Regions from separate parts of the Homo sapiens genome. Here all the other regions are linked to region 3. The links are contacts of gene promoters, found by promoter capture Hi-C in human tissues and cell types (Jung and others, 2019). All regions are on one chromosome and are shown on one strand. Each heading gives the region's core, a stretch centred on a gene start or on the middle of the fragment in contact. The rest is flanking DNA. Distances are from core to core; before and after follow the strand shown.

Region 1 (2,990 bases), core at 13-2,512, 400 kb before region 3:
TATGATAAGAATAAAGTAATTTTTCTAATGCACAATTATCTATCAATTAATTTCTAGTGGGCATCTCTGTGCCACTTAGCAGGTGACAATAGCATCTCCGATAGAGTTTTCACTTGGAAAACTGTTGACATTTCACCTGTTTTGAACAAAAGGTCCATTAAAATTTTCTTAAACATGTTTTCTGATTACAAAAGTATTCCATATCTGAACAGGAATACTTGGGAACCACAAAATTAATTATTCAATTTTATTTCATTCTAAAATGGAGTTCATTTAAATCGACACATGTAACATACCATCAGAGGCTATGCATATAATATTTACATATTGTTACTTGGTTCTTTCTACAACGTGTCTTCCCTTGTGTCTGGTTGGCCAAATCCCTTTTCCGATCTAAAATTTGTCGGTAAAATAGACATTGTTTCTTCAGTGTACTTAATTTTCTCTTTGGTAATACCTAAAATACCTGCATAAGTATTTTATGCATACCTGGATAAGTTGGGCATTTGATAAGTTCAGGCAGTCGAGTGGCTAAGATGTCTCTGAGTTTAGTAAGAATTCTCTAGGGAGAAAGTTACCTTCATCTATTTTGATTGGTGTAAAATTGGGAAGCAGATAAACACTTGTTTAAACATAATGAACAGGCAACTGGATACATTTAATCCAAGTTTAAACTGAATTTTATAAAAGAAAAAATAGTAGAAAACTGCATAGTATTGGTCTTATACTTTTTAACAACATGTAAGTAAAAAGGAACTACTGTTTTTCACTCTAGTCACACCTCCACTGCTTCCAAGAATATGACAGTACATACAGTTTTTGAAATTTTAGGAGCTGGATAGACAAGTAAATTGTCTACAAGGCTGCTTTTATTACTCATTGAAATGATGTTTTTTTAGTATTCTACCTTAACAATAAAGTACTAGAGAGAAGTAAAAACCTATAAAAATCATGTTTCAGTTAATAATTCATGTTATTAATTAGTCATGCTTTTGAGAAATGGGAGTTAAAACTAACTTTTCAAATGATTGCAAGGTGTGTGAAGTAAACATAATCAATTGATTTATTTTACTCAATTTACTTTCTAATCTGTTGACACAGATAATGAGCCTTGGCTCTACATTAACGTGAATATGATAGAAAAGAGAAATATACAGGCAAAATCCAAGTTTATGCATATATGAATGTTTAATTGGTATTTGCTTATTCATTTAAGGATTGTTGTGTACATACATGAAACACAAGACTATTAGAAACAAATTTAACCACAGCAACAAAAATGATCTGTGGTTGGGACACAAAATTCTTGATAAAATAATGCTTAAAATTTTGAAATTTATACATAAACTTTTACCTTTTAATGCTAAATCAGACTAATGTCATAATTGCCCAGATGCTGGTTTCATGTTTGAAGATGTTAGCATTGAAAATAATTGCCTCCACAATTTATCCTGAGGCATTTTCTTAAACAGAGAAAAATGCACTATGCTGTAATAGGCTTTCTTAAAAGAGGAAATGTGAAAATAGTTATTAAATTGTAGAGAGAAAATACACAGTGAGAGAGAGGAAAAATAAGGCTGTAGAAGTTCTTGAGGTAGGCAGTTCACCATGTTCCTAGTCTACAGATGTCTCATTATAAAATTATTCTGAATTTAGTTTCTAATAACCTGCTTCAGCTGTAAAATCACTTTCAATCTTAGAAAACTAAAGTATTAAATGTTATACCTCTGCTTTGCACAAAGAAGAGGCTCAATAAATATTAGTTAAATGTTGAATGAATAACAGTCCATGTTGAATCTTTAGTCCAACCACGGCAGAACAACGGTGACGGAGAACACAAAGTGAGTTAGATCACTGTCCTACATCTTCATAAACAAGACATCTAAGTGCCCTCCTCATCATTTTTTATAGTTTCTCCACACTCCTTAAGGCATATGCAGCAAACAGAACACCCCCAGCGTGTCATTACAATGTTTATCATGACCCATTGGTAATAGATGTACCTGGGTTCAAATCCTGGCTGTAAGACTTTAGGGGAGTTACTTAACCTCTCTGAGTCTCAATTGCCTCAATTACAATTGGAAATAAAGATACTCTCCATGAGGGATAGCATTAGGAGATATACCTAATGTAAACGACGAGTTAATGGGTGCAGCACACCAACATAGCACATGTATACATATGTAACAAACCTGCACGTTGTGCACATGTACCCTAGAACTTAAAGTATAATAATAATAATAAAAAGATACTCTCCATGGGGTTGTTTTAAGGCCAAAATGCCTGACATATTTTTCTCTGCAGTATGTATGTGCAGGCTCCATTTGTATTTTTTAGGAAGATCTGTGAGAGAAAAGATAAATCCATACCTTTGGAAGGGGAGCAGGAAAGAGTTATGGACAGTCCACCTAAACAAGGGAATCAACACATTTAGATATTACTTATCTTAGTTGCAGAAGAGAAAGATATTGGATGAGGAGATATACAAGAGTGAAGTGCACTTGAGGTGAGAATGGGTAAAATGCTGCAAGAGTTTGCATTGCAAGGTAGAGAACCATCCTAGAGGGAGATACTGTCTGTTATGTTTGCCTCAATTAAATTGATCAATGATGTTTTTGAGCAGCTGTTACTTCCAGGCTCTTTATAAGATGCGAGGAATAGGCCCATTTATCGGTCAGGACCCAGATATAACTGTTGTTTGGAAGAATTTACAATCTAATGTGGAAGACAAATTCTTAAATACATAAATGCCCATTAAAAGTATATTTAAATGCTCAGTGCTATGATACACATATGCTTAGAGTCTTTTTGTACCCCAGAATTGGCACAAATAACTCTGTTTGGGGGAACGCTGGGACAGCGAAGAAAAGGACAGAGGCATGAGCTGCAAAAATACTTCCTACACTGTCATCTAAGTAAAATTCAGTCTAAGGTTTGCAGTTTGATATTGCTAGAAGGTAAATTTCAAGCAGCCAAGAGGATGACCTTTT
Region 2 (2,991 bases), core at 472-2,971, 460 kb before region 3:
GTGTGTGTGTATTTTTTGTAGAAGTGGAGTTTCACCATGTTGCCCAGGCTTGTCTCGAACTCCTGGGCTCAAGCAATCTGCCCGCCTCAGCCTCTGAAAGTGCTGGGATTACAGGCGTGCACCACCTCGTTCAGCTCTTGTTTTTATTAGTGGCTTTGACCCATGCAGGAGGAGTCATTCTCTATAGCACTCTCTGTTCAATACCCTTGCCCCAACCCAGTTGACTCAAGTTATTATTATTCATTTGTCCAGCTCTTCTACCTTGCTTCTTGTTTCAGCTGAACACACTCACTCCTTTTCTGAACAAATCCTCTAGGGCTCTCAAAATCACCTCTTCATACACAGTCAGATACTTAGTTTAATTACCCTTGCTTTCCTTTTCTAATATGTACATCTTAACTTCCTCTTCAGTGGCTTTTCTTTTCCTTATAAATATGTTCTACTCTCTCCAATTAAAATCAGTACAGACTAAATTAGAGAAAACTGTAGTTTTTTGTTTTTGTCTTTTTTCATCTCCCAGGGAGAGCTTTTCCTTCCTTCAACTTGACTCTTCCCTTCTTCACAATCTCAAGTCTGGATTCTGTCCTGAGTCAATTAACATCCTGCAGGAAGAAGACTGTAAGATAGAATTAAAAGTGTAAAAGATTTTTGGGGGGAATGTCTGTGATGCACAAAGGGGAGAGAGAGCAAGAGTAGATAGGATGAGCCTACAGACCGTGACATAGCCTGTCACTTTGAAGGGAGAAAAGGAAGGAGAGAACATGGCATAGAAAAAGTCTCAAACTGCTATGGTTTTAAGAAAAATCTCAGCCACACCATTGGGGCACCTCAGAGTACAGAATGTTTATTAGAGAAGTCTCAGGTCAGGCACGACTGGCCCAGCTAGCTCTATGCCCCTTTGGTATTTAGTTTTTGGCTGGGGAGCCTGGCCTTAAAATAAATGCTGCCACAGCAGATCCTGTGGTTCAGTAGCTGAATGTTGTCAGCTAACCACACTCCTGGCAGCTGGTTTTCTCCAAGAGAGCTCTGAGCAGCACCACACTTTCATTAGCAGCCACAGGTACTAAATAATCTGCTGTTACTTTCTCAAGTTTAAAAATGACCATCAGCCCCTCTTCTCTAAGTATGCAACTTTTGACGGACTGCTCGTTTTAGATTGGCAGAAAATGTGCTTCCCCAGAGGTATGCTCCACCATAAACTCATACTCTATAAAAGCTTTGCAGCCAGCTATCCAATTCACTTGGTTTATGTGGTTACAGCCATATGCTGCTTGTACCAGCAGGGGACAAAAATTGTGGAGTTGTGAATACAACTCCAGAAATTGCTATTCAATATTACTTTTTAAACACCCAGAAGGTATTCTACAATTCAGAAATTTTAATAATATCTAATTTAATGCTAATAATTTTTTGAGTACTTTACATGTGACAGACACTGTTCTGGGTATTTTATATGTATGAACTCTTTTCATCTGTATTATAACCTCTTAAGGCAAATTTTTTAGTATTGACATTTAACAGAAAAGGAAACAGGCATGGAGAAGGTAAGTAAATCTCTCAAGACTGCACGCCTGTGAAGTGGTGAAACCAAGATTCAAACCCAGGCCATTAGTCTCCAGAGCTCATACAACCAGTACATTTACTATGCCACTAATATCTAGAACACTTTTTTCTGTAAAATTATTAATTGCAAAATGTTGACCTAATGTCTACTTTTAAGAATATGCATCAAGCAGAAATATTTTTTTCTGTCTTTCAGGTCCCTGCACTCCTAATCCATGCCATAATGGAGGAACCTGTGAAATAAGTGAAGCATACCGAGGGGATACATTCATAGGCTATGTTTGTAAATGTCCCCGAGGATTTAATGGGATTCACTGTCAGCACAGTAAGTTATTCATAGTCATTGTACTTTTATTATTATTGATTACAAAGTATACAAGCCATCATCATTCTTGTTTGTAGTAGAATCATAGAATCTGAGAGCAGAAGAGAGCCCTGGCTTTGGCTAATGCTGCTTCTCTCCCATGGAATACACCATGTCCACAGTGGAGGACTCCTAGACTGTGTTTCAATCCTCCCAGTGGCATGGGAAGTTTGTAGTCTTCTGGTCATCCCTTTTTATTATTGCCCCACTATCCTTGCCAAAAGATGCACTTTACATTAAACTGATATCTGTCTCTTTCATATTTGTCCTAAAGCCACATCCTTTAAGTTTTCCAAAAATTACTCTGGTGATTAGGTTCAGAGATGATACCCAGAAAAAAAAAAACAAAACACAAAACTGCCACCCTGCCCTTAAGCCAGTTTTCTCCTTCTTACATGTTGGCATTTTTAGTGTGAAAATCTTTGAAAGCTCAATAAGTATGCTACCTGCACTTCTTTTTTAAATCCCAATTCTTATTTATCTTGGAAGGTTAAAGAAAGTAGATCCCACTAGTGATGATTTCTTCTTAGAAGGAGGGGTGAACATAAATGTCAAAGGAATGGTGTGGTGCCTTAGCACTGTAGGTGTTCAGCAAGCAGAGGGGCCACAGCCAACTCTAAGCTGTCAGGGAGATTCTCACAGAGGTTGCCACATGCAAGCTGAGTCTTGAAGGAGGGACAGAATGTTGATCAGAGACAGGGGAATGACACATAGTAGGAAGAGTGGGGAAGGAATAGGCAAGCCATGATTACTGTATTGATGGGTAAGACAATGGTATTAAGAACGATAAGGCAAAGCTGGATTTGTCAGCGAGAGCTGTATCCAAGCACCAGCAAAAAACAGAGTGCCTTCAGGCTCTGTGACTTTGGGAGCATCTTGTACTTTTCTGGAGACATGCCATGGCCAGAAGTTTGTAGAATTTCCGTAGAAACCTATTGTAGTGCATGGGCGTGTGTGCTTTGTACAACGGGCATCTAAACTACTTGGAATTGTCCCTAAAAGCTCAGATCACCAACAAAGCAATGAAAAGCTATTGATTTTTCTCAGGTTGGGCCCAGAGGTGC
Region 3 (3,341 bases), core at 644-3,143:
CGTTTGTCTTTGAAATGAAACCTTTCCAAGAGGCACGTGTTGATTTACCAAAGACAGAATGGCAAGGGGGAGCCCAGAGGCAAGAACTGGTGAAATCTCTCAGAAGACGCGGGAAGAAGCCTTTTTTCCCCTGCAATCTCTCCCGCCTCTCTCCAGAGTCCAGGAGGAGGCAGTCCCCGTGGCTTAGGCTTTATCTTTAAGACAATAGCGCCGCTCGCCGCCACCCGCGCGACTCGGATCGGGCATCCCGGCGGCCGCACCCCGCGCGCTGGCTCATCTGCACACCGGCCACCTGCATTGTCGGCCAGAGCCCCCGTCCCGGCGGCTTCCCCAGCAGCTTGGCTGCCCCTCAGGTCCTCCCATCCCACCTTGCACCTCCAGGACGCCCTGGACCCGCCCATCCTCCTGCCCCACTAGCTCATCGACTTACGACTCCCTCAGTCCCTACGGCCCACGGAACCCTCTCCCCAACCCGCGCCACAGCCCGAGCGGCGGCGGCGGCCTTAAGAAGCCCGCAGTCCCGCCCGCGCCGCCCCGCCGGGGCCGGAGGTTGGAGCCGGGAGCACGGCCGCGAATCCCCGCACGTCCCCAGCGCTCCGCGACACCGGGCCCTGCTCGCTGCAACTCGGGGACGGCCTGCGTCTCGCCTCCACCCTGGCCGCGGGCCCCTCGAGCTTGTTTGCTTGTCCTCAGTCCCAGGGCCAGCCCCGCTCCCTCCTCCCGGCTGCTCCAACAGCCGTTTGCTTCCTGCGGTGTGTTTCTTTTTTCCCCTTCCTAGACTCCATCAAAGGTGGCTCTGTTATTGAAATATGAAGCCATTTCCTCTCCAAAACCCTTGGTTACTCAAGGCGGGAATCAATGGACCTATATACTCTCCCAGAAGTTATAAATAAACGTCTATTTGTTCAGGAGGCGTTTTCCCGCGTGTCCCAGCATCTTCCCCACTGGTTATTTCAGGGGTGTGTGTGTCTGTGTGTGTGTGTGTGTGTGTGTGTGTGTGTGTGTGTGCGCGCGCGCGCCCTGTGCCCATCTGGTTCTAATCCTGGTTATGGATCCACAACCCAACCCCACCCATCCCGTCTCCCCCTCGCATTCCTCGTTCTATAAATAAATCCAGGTTCTTTGAGCTCTGTCATCCAAGGATACAATAGCAGTTGTTTGTTAAGAGAAATTTAAACTCAACACCAATACTGAGTCCAGTAAACCAGAAAATATGCTTCTGGTGATTTGGGTGGAAGGCCATCTCCAGTTTAAGAAGCTTTATGTGCCACTATCATCATTGTCTGTTATCCTTGATCTCCTTTGGTGAGGGGAAGGCGGGAAAGAGAGGACCTCTCCGACCCTTGGATTTTTCTTTTAAGCAGAGGCTAATAAAACAAAGCGCAAACTGACTGTCCTGAGGAGTCTGCTCACACCGCTGCCCCGCAGATCATTCCACAGACCCCTTGTCCCATCCCTTCTGGACAGACCCAGGACTGATGAGGGTTCGGGTTCGGGAGGTGTGGTGTGGTGGGGGCTTGTGTGGCTGTAGCGGCCGGCTTTCCTAAACCCCAGAGCGGGATACTCGGGATCTGAGCAGAGGGGAAAGTCATCTAAGAGGCTGCTGCTTTACAAGGTCTGGGCACAGAGCTGCCCCTCCCTTCCTCCCTGAAGTTTGCATGAAGTGCACATTAGGCTGTAATTAGGGGATTTGGGAGGAGAACTTTCCTGGTGACGCTTTGCTTTTCTTCTGCTCTTGGTGAGAAAGTGCCTCCTTCTTCCCAGGATCAGGACCTCTGCCATCCAGCGCCACAAAGAGACATTCTGCACACACACTCACACACGCACACACACACACACTCTCACACTCGCCCAGAGACAAACTTAAGGTGAGGAGAAAGAGCGCTAGCTTCACTTGATCTCCAGCTTCCAACTTAAGCAGAACTTGAGAGCATCCGAACTCCTGGATTTCAGGACAAGGTAAAACTTGCAAATTGTTTCCCCCTCTTTTGGTTATACCTTTGTGCCTTTAAGATTTCAGAGGGCAATACACATGCAATGTATATATACATTAAACAAATTTTATTCTTTTCTTTTGAGTTTAGTTTTCATTTGAATTTAATATGACACCTCAACTTTTAAAAAAGTTTCATATTGTCGGATAAAATATTTCACTACAATAAACAGGCTCAGTCTAAAAATGGAGAAAGAATTAACTCTAGTATCTTAGCTTCTGCTAGTGCTCCTGTAAATCTGGTAGGGTCATGGTTTCCAAGTGGTGACTTTTCTATCTGTATCTCAACAACCATTTTTATAGCACCTGAGATGAAACAAGGATAGTATAGGCTGAAGGGAAAGGTGAGGAATGGGAATGTCCAGCCAGGCTTATGAATTTTGTTTCAGAGAATATATAGGGTTATGTGAAAAAGAAAGTTACTTTAGGCATAGGTAATACCTGTTAGATTAATAATCTTAGAAATGTTGCCATTTTTGGCCCAGGCTTCCTTCTCCAGCTAATTATGAACTTAAGATCATAGAATGATGATGCATTTCATATATACAATGATGTTGATGGATAATTTGAATGCACTGAAGAGAATTTATAGTCATAGTTAAGATTACTGTTAAAAGTTGCTTAAAGAAATTATTTGTATGTTGAGACTGTTCCCCACCAAAAACAAACCTAAACTTGTTTGGGCTTCGATTAAGTAGTTTTCTTCCATTGAATGTGACTGTTGTGTTCAAAATAAGATGGCTTATTAATTTGAGAATAAGTTGCTTTATTTTCATTTATCACTGGAAAAATACACACAGTGGCCAGTACATTTGGGAATTTTTAGGGTGGAAAGTGTTCCTGTACATGTTCCAGTGTGATGTCATAAAATCAAACATACTGGCTGGCTTCTTGGAAGCTAATAGTTCTTAAGAAATTAAGGCTGTGGATTGATTTCTAAATGAATGTAATATTTATTCATTACAATTGTAGTTTCTGGTAACTATTTCTATGTGATTATTTCTGTGTACTAAATTTGCAGAGATTTTATACACATTTCAGTCATTTCAGTATTTTAATGGAATGGGAATATTGTTCTATCAAAAGTATATCATAGTAGTTATCTTTGGAGAATTTTTAATGTGATATGATTCATAATTCTTATATCAGTTAACAAATTCCATTTACCTACAAAAATGAAAGTTTCTCTTCCATTCAGTAAAATATAATGTATACCAAAGGACTCTTCAGATATTAGCTTTAGTCTTTAGTCACTTTTATACCACCCATTTTAAAAAATTTAATTGTTTCAGCTAAGAAATGAATTTATACTTTTGTTGATGACCTCTTCCACTAAATTGGAAACAGC
Region 4 (3,314 bases), core at 588-3,087, 440 kb before region 3:
AGATAATTTCTGCCTGAGTCATCTATGATTCCTGATCAAAACCTAGAATTGTGATTTGCATGTAGTAGGTACTCAAAATATATTGGGTAAATGAATTTATAAATAAGTGAGTGATAAGAGCACACTAAACACTTGTTTATGGTTTGACTACCAAAGCAGAACGCTAGAGAACACCACGGTGAATTGCAACAGAGATCATTGCAATTATCTTGTCTTTTGAACTTGACCAGTTGGGGTTATTTACCACTACTTGGCAGGGATATATGGCTATTTTACATACGGATATTTCTCTTATATCTTTCAAGGGTGCCTGTCACATGGTAGCTGTACTATAAATATTTATTGAATGAATTAGTGCTGGCATATTTTACCAGTATATTTTTAAATATATTTTATTTAAATTCAAGGAAGCACATATTTATAATTTCTGAAGTATGAAGATACCCATGTCATCAAGTAATGAGAACTATAAAAGCTATTTTATCTACATAGACAAACTTAATGTTCAAATCCAGTAAGTATCCTAGTCTACGTTCCTATTCTTCCCAATCATTTAGGATACCTATTTTTATTTTTATATCTACGTCTCTTCATATGTAGGGATTTTACTGCAAACCGTTTTAACTGATTTGTGGAAAAAGCAGGGCATATATTAAAAAAAATATTTTTTCAGATCCCTCTCAGTTGTATCTGCATATATGATGAGAAAATCATAGCACAGCATATACAGCAGTAGTCCCTTATGGCCAGCTTCAGAGGTCTAAGTTGGCCTTCTTAAAAGCAGTCAATTATTACAAGCTTCTAAAGAGCTATGTATTAGTATAAATGATTCACCATATTTAAATACAGTAAAGCAATGGAATCCGTTTAGAAGTTTATAAGGTAGAATTTGATGACATCATACTTTTGATGACAGGATAGTATTTTGATGAAAATGGATAGCATTTTCTAGTATGGATAATCATTCTCAGTATCTTCATTTAAGATGAATTAAACTGCAAGTTTATACATGTGTTTTGTTTTGTTTTGCTAAAACTTTCCTTATGCATTTTTCTGTCTATAAAAGATGTCACAATGTCCATGTTAATACCTTACTACTAACATTATTCTAAGTTACGTAGATAGATTGACCTAGCATGGCTGATTTTGATCTTAAGTTGCACTGATTAGTCTTTTAAGTTTGATTAGATGAATTTCTGAGCTATCCATGACTTTTTTATTAATAAAGTCATCCAAGATATTTAGTGTATTTTTGCATTGATGGTCTTATATGTTAAAAAGTAAATAAACATGAAATTACCTTATTTCCTTAAAGTAACTTAATTCTTAGTGAGCTTTATTTTTTAATTGATATTTTAAACTCATAGGAATATAACGTATTTCAGTTTCTCTTTAAGGTATAGTCTCATAGGAATGTAAGTGACATTTTTGTCTGAGAACATAGTCTTTCTCTTTCCTCTTCAGAGCAACCAAATTGAGGAAAAATTTATTGCCAGCTATCTTTCTGCCATAGTTTATGGCCTGCAATTCTCAAATGGTTTAGAGAGTATATTTAAAATGAACTTCCTGGTCATTTTCTGTTTTTCAGGGACTTTAAACATGATTTGGGTTTGTCATCTAAAAGTAGAGTCACTCTTTGAGGTTCAAATTTCTTGCCCAACTTTTATTTTTAAAGCTTTCTCAAATACAAAGCTCAAGAGTCTTGGTCGATTTAAAAGCCCACTGTCTGTTTTCCCTAAATATTTACTTTTAAAAATATGATTGATATTAAGTATGTTATTACTGAAAAAGGAAGAAAAGGACTGTGGGAAGGTCAGAAAGAAATAAAACACTAAGCTTTTCCTTTTATTATGATGATGTCATATAATCAGTTACATATGGACTGCTGCTTCAGTGCCTTTCTTGGGAGGCCCAAAGACAAGGGGCTATGGCCTAAGCTGTCCTCACTGGATACAGATCAAGGACAGAGAAAGGTATGGGGAATGGAGTACAGTTCTAGAATATGGCAGGGAAAGAATATGTGTGGATTTCCTGTGGGCCAGATGTGGACTTCTCAAAACCAAGAAGCTCTGTTATCTTGGGAGCCCAAGAGGAAAATCCAGAGAAGGTCCCTGTGCAATCAACATGGTGCTCCAAGGGGATCCAGGGCACAGAGCATAAAGGCCCATAAAAGAAGGCAGCTAGAGGTAAAGAATTCCCAGTGATGAAATGTCATCACAGAACCTTCCATTGTCCCAGGAAAAAAAGAGCCCACAAAGCACATCTGCCAAATCCAGATCACCAAAGCCATGTTTCAACCTGACCATCAAGGATTTCATCTCATCCACTTTGGTACTGAAGATGTCAAAAGAAACTAGAGAATGGAGGATAAGGTGGAATGAGAGAAGAGAATATCGCCTTAACTCACTTCCCAGTTCCTTCCTTAGACACTGCCAGGAGGGACCCCTTGTCCTGGATCTCACATTGGAGATCTTGCTCTGGCTTTCTTCTGGAACCACTCCTCTCTATGGAGCAAGACATCCATGGGTACAAGGGAACATGCCCACCTGGAGACTTATTCCCCTTTCTAGACCATGCTGAAGATAATCCAGAACCCAGAATGGTCTGCCCAAATGGTACCCAGCATACTTCTAGGCCCCATGTGAGCCCCTTCTCCATATCTGTCCTCCCATGTGTCACTGTGTCACTAGTGGGCACACACCTGGGATCAGTGACATGCCATGGAATATCTGATTACTGCTTGGGAAAGACAGTGATCAGGTGCTTGGGCTTGGATATCTGTAGAGAAGAGTGGGTTGAAAGCTGTTTCTCTTATGGTCCTCAATTCTAAATTCTAAATTCCAACCTAGTTCTAAATTTAGAGTTCTAAATTCCAACCTAGTCTTCCACATTGTTAGAAAGATAGGTGACAAATGTTTTAAATAATTTATTAGCCTTATGATAACTTTTAATGATTTAGACCCATAAGAGAGTTTCCATTGTGACCCAGACTGTGAATTTTAGGTGAGGTCCCACTTCTCCACTGCAATTTTCCCAGGTAGGCCTAAGCTGGGAATGAGGAGTTCCAACTTGGATATCACTATGAATTTTTAGATGCTACAAAACTAGACTTATTTTAGTAAGGAAGGTACAGGCGATTGTCTAGTAGCTAAAAGTAAGCTTAGGGCATTTTTATTACCTAGAAATAATCAGAAAAACAATGGCAGCTTCCTCAAGATTTGATTCAGGATCAGGTAGAAACAAATATCTAGTATTAGGTAAAGGATGCTTTTGTTTTGTTTGAAATATTATAGACTGTGAAGCTCTTTTTTTAA

The links. The method cuts DNA at HindIII sites, captures the fragments that hold promoters and counts their contacts. A contact is called where the count stands out against the background at its distance.
Region 1: a fragment that was not itself captured here is called in contact with the fragment with the promoter of HAPLN1 in region 3 in 1 of the 25 tissues and cell types used here (mesenchymal stem cells).
Region 2: a contact is called between a fragment that was not itself captured here and the fragment with the promoter of HAPLN1 in region 3, in 1 of the 25 tissues and cell types used here (H1 embryonic stem cells).
Region 4: a contact is called between a fragment that was not itself captured here and the fragment with the promoter of HAPLN1 in region 3, in 1 of the 25 tissues and cell types used here (mesenchymal stem cells).

What each region holds. Positions count from the first base shown.
Region 1 is chr5:84,121,618-84,124,607 of GRCh38, reverse strand. The region is part of intron 5 of EDIL3 (EGF like repeats and discoidin domains 3); the gene reads left to right. Among named protein-coding and RNA genes, the nearest start is that of EDIL3-DT, 260 kb to the left of the region's middle. The HindIII fragment of the contact is 5,018 bases long and covers 1-2,990 here.
Region 2 is chr5:84,179,290-84,182,280 of GRCh38, reverse strand. EDIL3 (EGF like repeats and discoidin domains 3) reads left to right here. Exons shown (of 11, transcript NM_005711.5): 4 at 1,760-1,888. Among named protein-coding and RNA genes, the nearest start is that of EDIL3-DT, 200 kb to the left of the region's middle. The HindIII fragment of the contact is 5,639 bases long and covers 1-2,991 here.
Region 3 is chr5:83,719,407-83,722,747 of GRCh38, reverse strand. It overlaps HAPLN1 (hyaluronan and proteoglycan link protein 1), which reads left to right and starts at 1,893. Exons shown (of 5, transcript NM_001884.4): 1 at 1,893-1,959. RefSeq lists a silencer at 249-308. The HindIII fragment of the contact is 27,926 bases long and covers 1-3,341 here.
Region 4 is chr5:84,161,456-84,164,769 of GRCh38, reverse strand. The region is part of intron 4 of EDIL3 (EGF like repeats and discoidin domains 3); the gene reads left to right. Among named protein-coding and RNA genes, the nearest start is that of EDIL3-DT, 220 kb to the left of the region's middle. The HindIII fragment of the contact is 4,212 bases long and covers 1-3,314 here.